Regions from separate parts of the Homo sapiens genome. Here regions 2 and 3 are each linked to region 1. Evidence: promoter capture Hi-C in human tissues and cell types (Jung and others, 2019). All regions are on one chromosome and are shown on one strand. Each heading gives the region's core, a stretch centred on a gene start or on the middle of the fragment in contact. The rest is flanking DNA. Distances are from core to core; before and after follow the strand shown.

Region 1 (3,950 bases), core at 462-2,961:
AGAAAACAAAAGAAACAACTGCAAAGAACCCTCCTCCATCATCCTCACCCTCCCTAGAAGCCAGGACTCAAGTTGTGTATAGATCAGGACACAGTCAACAGCTTCCAGAAAGGGATAGAGCAGCTTAAAGTCACTTCTGACTTCAAACAGAAGCAAGCAAGTCCCTCTTCCCTTCAAATAGAAGCAAGCAAAATCAACTGCCCCTGTGTTTTCCTATCAATTTATTTCACTCTTAGAAACTGACCTCCAACATGGATGATGGGGACCGACTTGTGGGGAACGTATAAGGATGACTGTCAAGCCAGCACCAATGTCCGTGCACACAGCCATGCACAGCCTGATGTTCTGTGATTCAGCCCTCAGCAGGGCTCCTTTGCTGTGATTGTCAGAGGTTTGGGAAGGTCTGGGGCTGAGTGGGGTCTGGGGCAAGCTCCAGAAAGAGTCACCAGCAGCAACTTACCCATGAAGTAGGTGGTGGTCTTGCAAACGGCGCTCCCGAAGATGAAATCCTTGAGCAGATTGGGGATGAGGTTGAACGGCATGCAGAAGAGACAGAGCATGAGGTCGCTGACAGCCAGGGAGAGGAGGAAGATGTTGGTGACCGTCCGCATCCGCTTGTTCCGAATCAGCACGGTGATGACCAGCGTGTTTCCCAGCACGCTGAGCAGGAATATCAAGGAGTACAAGAGAATCTGCACCGCTGGCTGCCACTCTGCAGAGAGAAACAGGAGCAAGACGGAGGGATGGAGGTGATGACAGCAGAATGCTAAAACCGAAGCCAAGGGTGAATTCCTGCCGATTTTCCCCCCACCGGGGTGTACATCACTGGACCCACGATTCCTGTCCTGGCAACATTTTGCGGAAACAAATTGAGGAAAGCAGAGACTGAATTATTTTCTTTTTAGAAGGTTGGTTTGTTAAAGGATCACTCAGGGAACCACTTTTTCTTAAGAACAAAGCTCCTCAAGTGAACAGTGATCACTTTCTTTCCTGGCTGCTAAGCATTATTTCACTTTAATCACTTCATGCTGGGTTTCCCCCCAAGAAAAGAAAACAGCTGCATGGTGACAACACCTTTTCTGCTGTGCTTGTAAGTTCAGGCTTTGACACTTGTAGTCCCTCTTGCTTCACTCAGCTTTTCCTCCCCTGCTTTTGTTCCCCCAAGTCCTATTCATGAATGCCCAACTCCCCCATGGGGGACAATAAGAATATTTGACTCTATTCTGCTTTTTAATCTCTTCTCCAAACTTCTGAACATATGACTTTATCTAGCCTTGTCTCACAATGACTTGGTTATATATATTTTTTATCAGCCTTGCCTTTGCTGATTTCTCCCACAACTCAATAGTTTCCTGAATTAAAATAACAGCTTCCGACACTTACCTTTGGAAGGACGGGGCTGATCCAAGCAGAAAAGCGTCTCATTTTCGAGCCCGAGTTCACAGGGAGGAGTGATGTTGCTTCCATTCACAAGAAGGCTGTCAACCACATCCATCCTTGCCTGCTGCTTTCCACCAAGTGCTGGAGAGCTGGTGAATTGCTCACTCCCGGCTCATTCCTCTAATGACCGAAGCGTCTCGCAGATGCAACCTGCCGTGGAGGAGCAGGGAGGGAGTGATTTCCAGGTGTGGGCTTTTTCAGCCATTCCTAAAGGCGACTTGAGTTCACCTCACTCACTCCAGCATTTGTACTCCTGTTGTGGAAAAGGCAGTGAGCACAAGCCAAGCCCGCTCCACCTTCACCCCGCCCCACCTCCCCCGGCCCTTTCCTGGGCCAGTCTTAGGGCCCTGAGTACAGACAGCCTGGCTACCCGTTAACCATTCTCAGCGTGTGGCTGCTTTTTACACACATGTGTACATATGCACGGACACACACACACACACAGAGGCTTCCCCAGTACTCCTCTATATAGGAACCCGTCACCATCCCAGACATATGCAGAAGAAAGCCCAAACCGGCTGTGTGAGACAGGAACAATTAACACGGTAACAGATCCGATAATGCAGACCATCAGGCCTAAAGAACACGGAGGGACTGTGTTCTACCTCCTTATAGAAAAGCAATTAGTGCCTTTTTAGCTTTGGAACCATGCCCGGTGGTGTGTGTGTGGACAGAACTGCTGGCTGGTTGTTAAGTTGCTACTAAACACAGTGTTGTTTCTCGTGGTCTCTGCCCTTGTTAACTAGGATTGAGGCACTTTTGAACATAGGTACCTGGGTCCTTATTACAAAAGACGTTAGTGAGATTTCCTCTTCATTCATGAAGCCTTGCATTCAGCACATCTTCATTGAGAGTCAATCATTTGCCAGGCACTTTTCTAGCATGTCAGCAAATAATGAGCAGAATTATTTCAGGTAGTAAGTACTACAAAGGGAGTAAAGCAGGGAGATGTGATGTATACAAACAGATTAGGGGCTGATTTTTTGGGGGGCGGGGACAGGGTCTTGCTCTGTTCCCCAGGCTGCAGTGGAGTGGCGCGATCATGGCTCACTGCAGCCTTGCTCCCTGGCTCAAGCAATCCTCCTACCTTAGCCTCCTGAGTAGCTGGGACTACAGGCACACACCACTAAGCCCAGCTGATTTTTTTAGTTTTAGAAGAGAGGAGGTCTCGCTATGTTGCCCAGGCTGGTCTCAAGCTCCTGAGCTCAAGCAATCCTCCTGCCTTGGCCTCCCAGTGTTGGCATTACAGGCGTGAGCCACTGCACCTGGCCTGGGGCTGCTGATTTAGAAGGGGTAGTCAGGAGAGGTCTCTTAAGGAGGGGACTGTGATCTGAGACTGAACCACAAGAAGGACAAAGTCTTGTGAAGATCCCAAGACAGCTTCTCCCAGGCAAAAGGAGGAGCACTTTTAGCAGAGGTAACAGCAAGTGCAAAGGCCCTGAGGTGGGAATGAGTGTGGCCCCATTGAGGTACAAATAGATAGAAGTAGGAGTGAGTGAGAGGCAAACAGCAGGACGTGAGATCAGAGAGGGGGGCCATCTCAGGGTCCTGGGTGTTCCATGAAGCTCTGTGGTGCTGGAAAGCCCTTCAACCTCCATTGCACAGATTATGTCCTCAGTTCAGACCCTTTGGAAAGCAGACGACAATGGCTGTGAAACCTGCGTTTCTGACGCCCTGCTTGGCTGTGCTGAGACTTGGTCCATTTGCTAGATACCCGTGGGGCTCCTTGTGTACTGACAATGCTTCCACTGGCAGAGCTGCATGCTACATCTTGCTGAGTCTCTGCCAGACACAGAGGAACTAACGCATTTTTACTGTCAGTGTGGGGCTGGAAAGACAGTGGTGCCTCTTTTCTTTGAAACCATGAAGACCACATGGTTTGGGGCATTTAGTCACAGAAACAAGAAGGGGAAGGGACACTGGAGAAGCTGTGGATGTTATTGGGAGGACAGGCTTTGGCATCAGACAGACTTGGGATCAAATCCTGGCTTCACTGGTTACCTGCTAGGAAATACTGGGCAAATTAGTTTCCTTCCTTCCTTCCTTCCTTCCTTCCTTCCTTCCTTCCTTCCTTCCTTCCTTCCTTCCTTTCCTTTCCTTTCTTCCCTCCCTTCCTCCTTTCTTTCTCTCTCTCTTTCTTTCCTTTCTTCCCTCCCTCCCTCCTTTCTTTTTCTCTTTCTTTCTTTCTCTCTTTCTTTCTTTCTTTCTTTCCCTTCCTTCCTTCCTTCCTTTCCTTTCTTCCCTCCCTTCCTCCTTTCTTTCTCTCTCTCTTTCTTTCCTTTCTTCCCTCCCTCCCTCCTTTCTTTTTCTTTCTTTCTCTCTTTCTTTCTTTCTTTTCCTTCCTTCCTTCCTTCCTTCCTTCCTTCCTTCCTTCCTTCCTTCCTTCCTTTCCTTTCTTCCCTCCCTTCCTCCTTTCTTTCTCTCTCTCTTTCTTTCCTTTCTTCCCTCCCTCCCTCCTTTCTTTTTCTCTTTCTTTCTTTCTCTCTTTCTTTCTTTCTTTCTTTTCCTTC
Region 2 (3,950 bases), core at 1,046-3,545, 97 kb after region 1:
TACCCTCCCTGCAATTATTCCTCGTCTATCCGTCCACCACCTAGCATTTATTGGATATTTTATAACATGCTAGGCACTGAGGATGCACAGATTGATTGAGATCCTTGCCTTTTTGTGACTCATATAAATGAAATCATACAGTTTGTACATTTTGTGCCTGCTTTCTGGCATTAACACAGTGCTTTTGAGATTCATCCATTTTGTTGATATTTCAGTAGTTCTGTTCCTTTTTATTGCTGAGTAATATTTCAGTGTTTGAATGTACAATGGCTTGTTTATTCATCATTGTGTGAAGGGCATTGGGTTGCTTTCTGGTTTTAGAGATTATAAGTAAAGCTGATATATACATTCTAGTATACGATTTTGCTTGGATATTTGTTTCTTTTTTTCTTGGATAAATACCTAGGATTGGAATTGCTGACTTGTATGGTAAGTGTAATGTTTCATTCTATGAGAAACTGTCACACTTTTCCAAAGTGGCTGTATCATTTTCCATTCCCACAAGCAATTCTGAGAGTTCCAATTGTTTTGCGTCCTTGATAGCGCTTGATGCTGCCAGTCTTTTATTTATTTTTATTAATTAATTATACTTCTCTAGTAGAAGTGTAATAGTATCTTATTGTAGCTTTTATTGCATTTCCCTAATGACTAATGATATTAAGCATTTTCTTATGTGCTTATATCTTTTTTGGTGAGGTAGTCTTCAAATCTTCTGCCCATTAAAAAAAAAATAGTGTTGTCTTCTTATTGTTGAGTTGTAAGGATTCTTTCTATATGATGTAAGTCTTTATCAGATGTGCGTCTTGCAAATATTTTCTCCCAGTCTGTGGATTATCTTTTTTTTTTGAGACGGAGTCTTCCTCTGTCACCCTGGCTGGAGTGCAGTGGTGTGATCTCGGCTCACTACAACCTCTGCCTCCCAGGTTCAAGTGATCCTCCCGCCTTCGCCTCCTGAATAGCTGGGATTACAGGCATCCACCACCATGCCCAGCTAATTTTTTATGTTTCCAGTAGAGATGGGGTTTCACCATGTTGGCCAGGCTGGTCTTGAACTCCTGATCTCAAGTGATCTGCCTGCCTCAGGCTCCCAAAGTGCTGGGATTACAGACGTGAGCCACCACACCCTGCCCAGTCTGTGGATTATCTTTTCATTTTCTCAACTGGGTCTTTGAAAGAGAAAAATGCTTAATTTTGGTGACATAAATTTTTATCAATTGTTTTATGATTTGTGCTTTTTGTTCCCTACCTAAAAGTGTTTGCCTAACTCAAGGTCTTAAAAAAGTTTCTACTATGTTTGTTTGTTCTAGAAGTTTTATAGTTTTAGCTTCTACATTTAGGTCTGTGATCCTAAATGTAGAAGTGTGATCCATTTTGTGATCCATTTGAGTTAATTATTGTATATGGTGCAAGGTAAGCTTTTTTTTTTTTTTTTTTGCATATGGATATCCAGTATTTCCATTACTGATTTGCTGAAAAACCTATCCTTTCTCTGCTAATTTCCTTGGCACCTTTGTCGAAAATCAATTACACACACACACACAAAATTTCTGGCTCTCTATTTTGTTCCATTGATCTATTTGTTCATCATACAATACCACACTGTCTTGCTTTTTGTAACTTTATAGTAAGCCTTGAGATCAAAGTCCTCCAAATTTGTTCCTTTTTTTCCCAAAATTATTTTGGCTATTCTAGGTCCTTTGCTTTGCTATATAAATTTTAGAATCCTCTTATAAATTACTACAAAAATTGTTGAAAATTGGATTGGGATTATGTTGAATCTGTAGATCAATTTGGGGAGAATCGAGATTTTTAGCAATATTAAATTTTCTGGCCCATGGACACAGTTTATCTTTTCATTTATTTATGTTGTTTTTATTTTCTCTTGTCAGTGTTTTGTAGTTTCAGCACACAAATATTGCATACTCTTTGTTGAGATTTTCCCCTTAAGTATTTTGTGGTTTTTGACGCTATTATAAATGGTGACTTAAGTTTTAATTTTTTATTTTTAACATACAGAAATGCAATTGATATTAATCTATTTACCATGTATTCTGAGAACTTGCTAAACTTATATATTGGTTATAGTACCTTTTCTGTAGATTACTTAAGATTTTCCAGGTACATGTATCATAATGAACTAAAGACAGTTTTACTTCTTCCTTTCCAATCCGTGTGCCTTTTATTTCTTTTTCTTGACTTACTGTACTGGATAATGCCTCCAGTGCAATGTTTTGCAGATGCTTTTTTGCAGGTTGAGGAAGCTCTATTCTATCCCTAGTTTTCTGAGAGTTTTATCATGAATGGATGTTGAACTTTGTTAAGTACTTTTTTATATCTGTAGATATGTTCATATTATTTTTCCTGCTCATGTTGATATGATGAATAATACTGATTGGCTTTGAATGTTGCACCAATTTTGTATTCCTGAGATAAATTCCACTTGGTTATGATGCATTATTCTTTTTATATATTTCTTGACTCAATTTGCTAACATTTTGCTGAAGATTTTGTAACTGTATTTATGAAAGATACTGGTTTGTGGCCAGGCGCGATGGCTCATGCCTGTAATCCTAGCACTTTGGGAGGCCAAGGTGGGCAGATCGCTTGAGCTCACGAGTTTGAGACCAGCCTGGGCAACATGGCAAAACCCTATCTCCACAAAAAATACAAAAATTAGCCAGTGTGGCAGTGCGCACCTGTAGTCCCAGCTACTTGAGAGGTTGAGGTGGGAGGATGGCTTGAACCTGGGTAGCAGAGGTTGCAGTGAGCAGAGATCGCACCACTGCACTTCAGCCTGGGTGATAGAGCCAGACCTTGTCTCAAAAAAAAAAAAAAAAAGATATTTCTTTGTAGTTTTTTTTTTTCTTGTAACACTTTGTCTGCTTTCGATACCAGTTAATGATGATCTTATAAAATAAGTTGGGAAGTGTTCCTTATTTTCTGGAAGAATTTATGTAGAATTAATATTATTTGCTCCTTAAATATTTGGTAGAGTTCCCAGCAAAGTCACTGGTGCCTAGAGTTTTCTTTATGGACACATTTTTAATTAAAAAAATTCAATTAAAAATATATGCAGGCCATTCAGGTTATCTATTTCTTCTTCTGTAAGCTTTTGTAGTTTTTATGTTTCAAGAAGTTGCCGCACTTAATTTATTTTAACGAATTTACTGGTATAAAATTGTTTATATGATCCCCTTATATTCCTTTTAGTGTCTGTAGGATTTGTAGTGATAGCCCCTCCTTCCTTCCTTATACTGTCATATGTGTTCTTTTTTTTTTTTTTTTTTTGAGGTGAAATCTCGCTTTGTCGCCCAGGCTGGAGTGCAGTGGCATGATCTCGGCTCACTGCAAGCTCCGCCTCCCGGGTTCACGCCATTCTTCTACCTCAGCCTCCTGAGTAGCTGGGACTACAGGCGCCTGCCACCACGCCCAGATGATTTTTTGTATTTTTAGTAGAGACAGGATTTCACCGTGTTAGCCAGGATGGTCTCGATCTCCTGACCTCGTGATCCGCCCGCCTTGGCCTCCTAAAGGGCTGGGATTAAAGGCATAAGCCACCGCACCTGGCCATGTGTTCTTTTTCCCTAATTAATCTGGCTAGAGATTTATCAATTATATCAATACTTTCAAAGAAGTAGCTCTTGGTTTGATTGTTTTTCTGTTTTCAATCGCTCTGATTTTTTTCCTTTATTATTTTTTTCTGCTTGCTTTGGATTTAATTTGCATTTTTAAAGCTATTTAGGTGAAATTTAAATTTTTGATTTGAGACCTTTATTCTCTTCTAATTAAATGCTCTAAATTTCTTTCTATGTACTGGTTTATCTGTGTCTATAAATTAGGATATAGTCTATTGCCATTTTCACCCAATTAAAATTTAAAAAAATTCTCTTGTGATTTTATGGGTTCTAATAACCCATGGGTTATTTATAAATGTGTTGTTTACCACTATC
Region 3 (3,950 bases), core at 570-3,069, 73 kb after region 1:
TTCCATTTTCAGGTATTCTGTTAAGAATTTTTGCATCAATGTTCATAAGAAATATTGGTCTGTAGTTTTCTTGTAGTATCTTTGTCTGACTTTGATATCAAGGTATTACTGCCCTCATAGGACGAATTAAGAAGTGTTTCCATTTCTTTAATTTTAAGAAAAAGTTTGAGAAGAATCTGTGTTAGCTCTTCTTTAAATGTTTAATAGAACTCACCAGTAAAGCCATCAGGTCCTGGGCTTTCTTTGTTGGGAGATTTTTTTCATTACTGATTTAACCTCCTTACTAATTATAGATCTGTTCAGATTTCTATTTCTTTGTGATTAGGTCTTGGTAGGTTTGTGTTTCTAGGAATTTGTCCATTTTATCTCGGTTATTCAATTTGTTATAATACAGTTGTTCATGTAATCCTTTTTATTTCTGTAGAATTAGTAGTAAAGTCCCCAGTTTCATTCTGATTTTAGTAATTTGAGTCTCTCTTTTTTTCTCTTGGTCAACCTAGCTAAAGATTTGTCAACTTTGTTGATCTATTCAAACAACCTATCTTTGATTTTATTGATTTTCTCCATTGTTTTTCTCTCTCTATTTCATTTCTCTCCACTTGACTCTTATTTCCTTCCTTCTAGCTTTGGGTTTAACTTTTTTCTAGTTCCTTAAATGGTAAAGTTAGGCTGTTGATTTGAGTTCTGCTTTTTAATATTAGTGTTTATAGCTATACATTTCCTCCTTAGCACTACTTTTTCTGTGTCCCATAGTTTTGGTATGCCATATTTTTGTTTTCATTCATCACTAAATCACCCTTGTGATTTCCTCTTTAATCCATAGGTTGTTTGAGTGTGTTGTTGGCCAGGGCAGTGGTTCATGCCTGTAATTCCAGCCCTTTGGGAGGATTGCTTGCGGCCAGGAGTTTGAGACCAGCCTGGGCAACATAGCAAGACTCCATCTCTACAAAAGAAAAAAAAAATAACCAGGCATGGTGGTGGGTGCCTGTGGTCCTAAATACTCAGGAGGCTGAGGTGGAAGGATTGCTTGAGCCCAGGATTTCAAGGCTGCAGTGAGCTATGATTAAGCCACTGCACTGTACTCCAGCTGGGTGACAGAGTGAGACCTAAACTCAAAAAAAGTATGATGTTTAATTTTGAATAATATAAGTTTTCCAATTTTTCTTCTGTTACTCATTTCTAATTTCATTCACTTATAGTTGGAAAACATACTTTTTAGATACCTATCATTTAAAATTTATTAAAACTAATATATGCTGTATCCTGAAAAATGTCTTATGTGCACTTGTGAAGAACGTGTATTCTGCGGTTGTTGGTTAGTGTTCTGTATATGTCTGTTAGATCTAGTGGGTTTATTATGTGTTCAGTTCTCTATTTCTTTACTTATCTTCTGTCTAGTTGCTCTGTCCGTTATTGACAGTAAGCTATTAACTTCCTCAACTATTATTATAAAACTGTCTATTTCTCTCTTCAGTTCTGTCCACTATGGACAGAAAGCTATTAACATCTTCAACTATTATTGTAAAACTGTCTATTTCTCCCTTCAATTCTGTTCATTTTTGCTCATATATTTTGATAATTTGTTATTAGGTACATAAATGTTTATAGTTGCTTCATCTTCTTACTATATTGAACCTTTTACTAACATATAATGCTCTTCTTTGCCTCTTATAAATTTTTTTGATCTGAAGTCTATTTTGTCTTACGTAAGTATAGCCACACTTACCCTCTTTTGGTTACTATTTACATGAAATATCTTTTTCTATCCTTTCATTTTCAATGTATTTCTTTCTTTGTATCTAAAGTGAGTCTCCTGTAGATGGCATATATTTGGATCTTTCAAAAATCCATTTAGCCAATCTATCTCTTGATTGGAGAATTTTATCCATTCACATTTGAAGTAATTACTGATAAGAAGGGACTACTTCTGTCATTTTCCTGTTTGTTTTATATGTGCCTTATAGCTTTTCTTTTTCCCTCATTTTCTGTGGTACTATCTTTTTTTGTGTTTGGTTGTATATTTTTGTAGTGAAATGTTTTAATTCCCTTCTCATTTCATTTTTTTACATTCTATATCTATTTTCTTTGTCATTTCTTTGGGGATTATATTTAATATCTGCAAGTTATAATGCTCTAATTAGAATGTATACCATCTTAACTTCAATAACATAAAAACACTCTGCTCCTTAACAACTCTATTCCCATCTCTTTTAGTTATTGATGTCATGACATTATCTTTTTACATTGTAAGCCCTAAAACATAAACCAATTTTTTTTTTACTTCATTGGCCACCTCCTAAATGATGTAGAAAACAATATGTGGAATTACAAACAAAAGTTACAATAATACTTCCTTTCATAACTGCACATGTATTTACCTTTCTTGGGATCTTTTATCTTTATACTGATTCAAGTTACTGTCCAGTGTCCTTTCACTTCACCCTGTAGGATTGCTGCTGCTGAGCTAAGAGCTGAAATTGACTGCAATTTACTGTTCTAACCTTCACCTGGAATTTGCAAGCCTTCAATAGACTCCAGAGTTCCAAAATAGTTATATTGCACTGATTCTGCCAGTGTAATTATTGTCTAGGTAGGAAGATAGATTCTGTTGGTTCCTACTCTGCTGTCTCCCCATAATTTTTGCCTGCTTAGCCTTTAAGGGTCTTGCAAATTGTGATGCTTCTAGACTATCAATAACTAATATCTCACACACAAGATACATTTACAAAGAAGATTATCATTTGTGAGAGTGGATATAAACCTATATTTCAGATAGACATTAATATTTTTGAGAAATTTTGGCCAACTTCTAGTCATATATTTCTCTACAACATTTCTTTTACAAATTGTCATGTGACTGATAAAGGGCTTGTACTAGGTAGTCACAAAATAACAGATTTGCCATTTTGTGTGCATCCTTGCATTATTAACGTGATAGAGTTGGTCTATGATTTCTCTGCAACATCTTTTTTTTGTTGTTGTTCCACTTGGGAAGGTTGATTTAACTGAAATTTGAGCATACCTCTGTAAATCTACTTCCCCTGGCTGAAGCCCACGTGCCTCAAACTGCTGAAAGTGAAGTACATGTGGCTACCACTGTCAGCTCCTCATGGGATTCTTCCACCAGTACACCTCCCATGCTGAGTGGGCAACATGGCTAGAGAATAGGTGACTGAGTGTGGACCATGCTTCTAGTAAATAACAATTGTCCCCACCCAAATCTTATCTTGAATTGTAGCCCCCATAATTCCCATGTGTCGTGGGAGGGACCTGGTGAGAGGTAACTGAATCATGGGGGTGGGTCTTTCCCATGCTGTTCTCATGATAGTGAATAAGTCTCACAAGATCTGATGGTTTTATAAAGGGGAGTTCCCCTGCACACACTCTTTCTTGCCTGCTACCATATAAGATTTGACTTTGCTCCTCATTCACCTTCTGCCATGATTGTGAGGCCTCCCAGCCATGTGGAACTGTGAGTCCATTAAATCTCTTTTCTTTATAAATTACCCAGTCTTGGGTATGTCTTTATTAGCAGCATGAGAACAGACTAATACAATAATGAAGGCTAATTTCATTTTTTTAAGATAAATGCATATAAATAGAACTTCTAATCCTGATCCCACAGTCCTGTTTTAAAGACTGCTAATTCAGGTCAGTAGTTACGTAGTGGTTTAAAAGTTTCTTAATAGAATAGTTTAATTATGTGTTCAAGATTAGGTTATAGGCTGAGTGGGTGGCTCATGCTTATAATCCCAGCAGTTTGGGAGGCCCAGGTGGGAGAATCACTTGAGCCCAGGAATTTGAGACCAGCCTGGGCAACATAGTGAGACTCTGTATCTACAAAAACATTAGAAATTAGCTAGGCATGATGGCACATGCCTATATTCTCAGCTACTTGGGAAGCTGAGGTGGGAGGACCACTTGAGCCCAGAAGATTGAGGCTACAGTGA

What was found. Contacts are between HindIII fragments. The study calls those that stand out against the background at their distance.
Region 2: a contact is called between a fragment that was not itself captured here and the fragment with the promoter of CCKAR in region 1, in 2 of the 25 tissues and cell types used here (IMR-90 fibroblasts and lymphoblastoid cells).
Region 3: a contact is called between a fragment that was not itself captured here and the fragment with the promoter of CCKAR in region 1, in 2 of the 25 tissues and cell types used here (neural progenitor cells and thymus).

What each region holds. Positions count from the first base shown.
Region 1 is chr4:26,488,773-26,492,722 of GRCh38, forward strand. It overlaps CCKAR (cholecystokinin A receptor), which reads right to left and starts at 1,712. Exons shown (of 5, transcript NM_000730.3): 1 at 1,384-1,712; 2 at 461-712. The coding sequence starts at 1,495. The HindIII fragment of the contact is 14,703 bases long and covers 1-3,950 here.
Region 2 is chr4:26,584,756-26,588,705 of GRCh38, forward strand. All of the region lies in intron 1 of TBC1D19 (TBC1 domain family member 19), which reads left to right. Among named protein-coding and RNA genes, the nearest start is that of TBC1D19, 2.6 kb to the left of the region's middle. The HindIII fragment of the contact is 5,892 bases long and covers 1-3,950 here.
Region 3 is chr4:26,561,784-26,565,733 of GRCh38, forward strand. No RefSeq gene overlaps it. Among named protein-coding and RNA genes, the nearest start is that of TBC1D19, 20 kb to the right of the region's middle. The HindIII fragment of the contact is 9,820 bases long and covers 1-3,950 here.